2 separate regions of the Homo sapiens genome follow, and region 2 is linked to region 1. Evidence: promoter capture Hi-C in 16 types of primary human blood cells and fetal thymus (Javierre and others, 2016). All regions are on one chromosome and are shown on one strand. The core of a region is centred on a gene start or on the middle of the fragment in contact, and the rest is flanking DNA. Distances in the headings are between cores, read along the strand shown.

Region 1 (2,722 bases), core at 79-2,578:
GGAGGTTGAAGCTGCAGTGAGCTGAGACTGAGCCACTGCACTTCAGGATGGGTGACAGAGAGACCCTGTCTCAAAAAAAATTTTTTTTCAATAAAATCTAAACGTAGATATTTCTGATGAAAATTTAGTATCCCAACAGAGACTTGCTGGAAGGACAAAATATATCACATTTTTAAGACATTGTACGTATATCTCATTAGTAATTTGATTATTGAAATAACTTTTGAAAATACCGCACTAAAACGTTAACACTAATTTCACCAGTTTCTTCGTACTTTTTGTGGCTACTGCAAAATTTAAAGTTATGTGTGTGGCTGCATTATATTCCGAGCGGACAAGCCCGACCTGGCAAGGCCTGGCAAATGGTAAAAGCCACCAAAATGGTGGCATATGAGCTGCATGATAGGAACGAGAATGATATTCCTTTGTGAAGATCAACAATACTTGACATCAAGTAGGTCTTCAAAACACAGGACTACCTAATGCTGAGAATTACTCCTCCCGATTACACAGTGTCGCATTTGTTTTTGTGAGCGCCTTAAGTTCCTTTTCCGACAAGAAAGGCTGGCAGACAGTTCTGATAGGGATGAAGGAATGGAGCACTTGGGGCTTGCCTAGGCTGTAAGGTGAAGTTTTAGAATTGTCACTTGGAACTCGGTCCCACGCCCAGAAATCGCAAACAGTCCCAAGTTTCCACACTGGCCACGCCAGTCCGCGACCCACGGCGGCTCCCAAGGCTGCGCCGACCTAGGCGCCCACACCCGCGACCTTCCCCGGAAGCGTTTCCATTTCATTCCCTCAAGTCCGCAAGGCGCCGGGTGGGTCCCGAGCGCCCGACTCAGCCATAAAGGCGGCCCCGGGAAAACGCTCTCGGAAGCGGGTAGGGGCCCAGGCCCACGCTGCCCGGCGTCCGCAGGCCAGGGGCAGGGGCAGAGGCAGGGACGGGGCAGGAACAAGGGAAGGTGGCGGCGGGCGGAGGCGAGGCCGAAGCGCCGGGGCCCGCGGGCAGAGGCCGCAAACGTATCCACGCCCCTCGTGCATCCTGGAGCGGGGCTGATGACGAACACAGGGCGCGACGGACGCACACACCGCCCAGCGCTCGCACGACGGTGCGTGCAAGGAGGCGGGAGGGAGCCTCGGGCTGTCACCGGCGCAATCTGCGTCCCGCCTCCTCCGCTCCCTGCGCTCCCGCCACCTCGGCAACTCCGCGCCCGCCTCCCGCCTCCGTCGGAAGCCTCCGCCGCAGTAAGGCTCCCGGTCTCGCTGCTGTCTCTTTAAATGGTGGGGCTACGAGCCGCCCCTGCAGCTGCTCCCTGGGTGGCCCCGCGCGCCGCTTTTGAGGGGCGAACCAAGATGGCGGCGGTTTTGGCTGTGTGAGGAAGACGGAAGAGACGGCGGCGGAGGGAAACCGACTTCCACTAGTCCGGGTCGCTTGGGCGGCCGGGGGCCCTCAGAGTCTCCCGGGCAGTGGTAGCAGTTGCAGCAGGATCAGGCGCCTGTCGGCTTCTGACGTTTAAAACAGGGGGAGCGGAAGGGAGCCACTGGCCGCGGTGGCAGGGCCAGGTATAAGGAAGGAAAATATGGCGGCGGCGGCGGCGGCCTGAGGAGGCGGCGGCGGCGCGGGAAGCTGCTTCGCGGAGATCATGGCGGAGGCGGGAGCAGGGCAGTGACGGGAGCCCCGAGTTCCTAGCGCTGCGGGGCGGGAGGCTACGAAGCGCTGCGCGGCCCCCTCGGGGCTGCCGGGCGCCGGGCTCGCCAGGCCTGGACAATAGCGCCGGGGAGCCGGAGGCGAGGAAAGGCGGCGGCCCAGAGCTCGGTCCCTGGAGCGGGCCATGCAGGCGGCGGCGCGGCCCCGCGGCGCCCAGCGGCGGCAGTGAGGCCGGGGAGCCCTCCGCTCGCGGGCGCCCTCACGCCTCGCCCCTCGCCTCTCCAGGGCCCCTTTCCTGGGCGTCTACTGGCGGGGCCCCCGCCCCGGTTCCCGGGCGGCACGATGACCGACACCCGGCGGCGGGTGAAGGTGTACACGCTCAACGAGGACCGGCAGTGGGACGACCGGGGCACCGGGCATGTGTCGTCTGGCTACGTGGAGCGGCTGAAGGGCATGTCCCTGCTTGTCAGGGCTGAGAGCGACGGTAAGTGAAGCCCCGCGCGGCGGGACCCTCGCAGCCCCCACGGCCCTGGGCCGCCTCCCTGGTTCTTGCGGGGCATGGCGCTCGCTCCACGAGAACAGAGGGACGGCTGGGGAGGGCGGCCACCTCGGGGGAGGACGGGCCCCAGGTACCCCAGTCTTGCGGGAGCTCCCCGGAGAGCGCTTGAAATGTTTCCTTTCTCTGAGTGCCTGGTGGCATTTTGGGTACGAGGAGAGCCAAGCGTGTTTGAGCTGTGCCGCCCTGGAGTGTGGAGAGGTCGAGGACCTGAGATAGGGAGTCCGGAGTGTGCTGTTCTTTTGCACTAGAGTGACCTTGAGAAAGACACTGATTAATCCGATCTGCTGCCTTAGTTCACCCATCTGTAAAGCAGGCATGAAACTTTGCTTGGAGCTAAGAAAGTTCTTGGACCTTTCACACTTTGAAGAACGTTTTGCTGTGCTTTTTTTGTTTTTCTTTTTAAACATCTTTTTGCTACATGTTTCTGATCGTGTTGAAGCTTGGCAACACTGTATCTGGCAACTCTACACTAAGAGAAAACGCTTTCCCTTGCGAAGATTTTCGTTCACCAGTGT
Region 2 (2,722 bases), core at 82-2,581, 680 kb after region 1:
CCCCGCCTCGCCCCGCCTCGCTCCGCCCTGCGGCCCCCGCCGCGGCCCCGCGAAGGATCCGCCAATGAAGCGCCCAGGAACTGCATGACCTCATCAGGAGGCTCCCTCATTGGCTGCCGCCGCCGCGCCTGGTCGCCTCGTTCCGTTCGATTCCAGAAAGCCGCGCCGGCCCCAGTCCCCATGGGCTGAAGGCAGGTTGAGTTCTTCCCCAGGTCTGCGAGCCTCGAAGGCTTCTTTCAGACAGCAGACCCCTTAGAAGCGCAAGGCTGCTTTCTGACAAAGAATCAAGTGTTCCTTTCAACCAGCCAAGGGACTGGTTTTCTCGCTGACCCTTTGACAGGTATGTTCCCGGGATTTTGCTGGGACCTTCATCTTCCCCTCCCTACGTCCGTGACACATCTGGCTTCCCACTCGTTTCAGTCGTGTATTCCGTGGAGTTTTCTCTTGCTTCGCAGTAGATGGACTTCTGAAGCCCCACCTTACTGTTAAATGCCAGTGATCATCTCCCCCCACAGCTAACTCGGGAATTAGTCCACTGACACCCCCAGAGAGGGGACACGCCTTTCACAAGGTCACACGGCAGGTCAGTTACAGAGATGAAAATCAAATCCAGGTTTCCTAACTTCAAGAGTTTTTTCAGATGCCTTATTATTATTATTCGTTTTATTTTTATTTTTCATTTTTTATTTTTTTGAGATGGAGTCTCACTCTGTCACCCAGGGTGGAGTGCAGTGGAGTGATCTTGGTTCACTGCAATCTCTGCTTCCCGGGTTTAAGCGATTCTTCTGCCTCAGCCTCCCGAGTAGCTGGGATTACAAGTGCCCACCACCACACCCGGCTAATTTTTGTATTTTTAATAGAGACGGGTTTCATCATGTTGGCCAGGCTGGTCTCGAACTCCTGACCTCAGGTGATCCACCCGCCTCGGCCTCCCAAAGTGCTTGGGACTACAGCTGTGAGCCATCTCACCTGGTAATTATTATTATTTTTTTTTTAATTTGCTTCCTGAGAGCTCAGAAAGGAACCTCAGCTGTATGGGAGCACCCATATACCAATCCCATTCCAGCCACTCTCACTTTGACAGGACAGAATCAACGACCAGAGCCCAGGACCTCCTTGACTAGCACTCTCCTCTTACAAATAAGGAAACTGAAGGGTACCTGATCATGAACAAGCTGATGGGCAGCACTTGACCCAGACCTTTTACTTCTTACCCCTCCACCCCAGTTTGGACTCCCAAATGTGGGGAGGAATGGAATGCCCTACCAGTCCCCAGGGAATGGTTCATGCAGTCAGCATGGTTTTAGTACCTTTAGCATTTGATTTGGGAGAAAGATAATAACCAGAAGTGTCTGTATGCCTCACCAGCTGTCCAGCAGATCCCATAAACCTTCACCCCCAACCCTTCTGACCACCAAGTGCTTTGCTGCAGGAAAGGAGACCAGATTGTTGGGTTTTTCTCATCTGATGGTCGGGGGTGATCTGGGACTGCATATGTCTGAATACTGGGACCCTATTTTGAGTGCAAGAGTTTTGAAAACCCAGGACCACTTTGTTAGATGGTGAGGGTTGGTGAGCAGACTGGACCTGAGATCCTTTTTCAAGGCTTGGCTTGGGGGCAACATTCTCCAGGAAGACTTACTGGAGCACCCACCACAGTTAATTCCTGGCGTTCCTCTGGGTCCGGCTGCAGAGCTGTTGCTCACTTCTTTCCCCCACTAGACTGTGAGTTCCTTGAGGGATGGGACCATACCCTACACAATATTGTATCACTAAGGCCTAACACTGTGTCCGGCACATAGTAGGTACTCAATAAACGTTTGTTGAATTGAACTGTGGAAACCTTGCACCCTATTGGCCTTGTGCAGGGGAAGATCACTCACAATTCCTCACTGAAGCAGATCCTGTGTCTATCAGGCTCCTTCACACAAAATGAGAATTAGTTTCTTTTTTTCACAGTAACGTGTCCGAAGTGCAAACTTCAAACCTGTTTGCTGATACAACTCCCCAGGAACAACCAGGTCCCTTGTGCCCACCTAGTTCGTGATTTCTCTTTAAAACTCCTGATGTCAGCTGGGCGTGGTGGCTCACACCTGTAATCCCAGCACTTTGGGAGGCTGAGGTGGACAGACCACTTGAGGTCGGGAGTTCGAGACCAGACTGGCCAACATGGTGAAATCCCGTCTCTACTAAAAATACAAAAATTAGGCAGGCGTGGTGGCATATGCCAGTAATCTCAGCTACTTGGGAAGGTAAGGGAGGAGGATCACTTGAACCCCAGAGGCAGAAGTTGCAGTGAGCCAAGATTGTGCCACTGCATTCCAGCCTGGGTGACAGAGCAAGACTTTAATCTCAAAAAACAAACAAACAAACAAACTCCTGATATGTGAATCAACAACATCATTTAAATCAAACCATTCTGCCAGGCGCAGTGGCTCACACCTGTAATCCCAGCACTTCGGGAGGCCGAGGTGGGCAGATCACCTGAGGTCAGGAGTTCAAGACCAGCCTAGCCAACATGGTGAAACCCTGTCTCTACTAAAAAATGCAAACATTAGCTGGGCATGGTGGCAGATTCCTGTAATCCCAGCTACTTGGGAGGCTGAGGCAGGGAGAATTGCTGGAACCCAGGAGGCGGAGGTTGCAGTGAGCTGAGATCAAGCCACTGCACTCCAACCTGGGTGACAGAGTGAGACTCCATCTAAAAAAAAAAAAAAATTAA

What was found. The method cuts DNA at HindIII sites, captures the fragments that hold promoters and counts their contacts. A CHiCAGO score of 5 or more calls a contact.
Region 2: a contact is called between a fragment that was not itself captured here and the fragment with the promoter of PPP4R3A in region 1, in 1 of 17 cell types (activated CD4 T cells). The highest score is 5.7, in activated CD4 T cells.

What each region holds. Positions count from the first base shown.
Region 1 is chr14:91,508,916-91,511,637 of GRCh38, reverse strand. It overlaps PPP4R3A (protein phosphatase 4 regulatory subunit 3A), which reads left to right and starts at 1,328. Exons shown (of 15, transcript NM_001366432.2): 1 at 1,328-2,132. The coding sequence starts at 1,991. RefSeq lists silencers at 1,069-1,268, 1,849-1,948, 1,959-2,018, 2,269-2,318 and enhancers at 1,329-1,608, 1,426-2,076, 2,077-2,722. The HindIII fragment of the contact is 5,922 bases long and covers 1-2,648 here.
Region 2 is chr14:90,825,607-90,828,328 of GRCh38, reverse strand. LINC02321 (long intergenic non-protein coding RNA 2321) reads left to right here and starts at 155. Exons shown (of 4, transcript NR_184259.1): 1 at 155-340. RefSeq lists a silencer at 1-124. The HindIII fragment of the contact is 3,534 bases long and covers 1-2,722 here.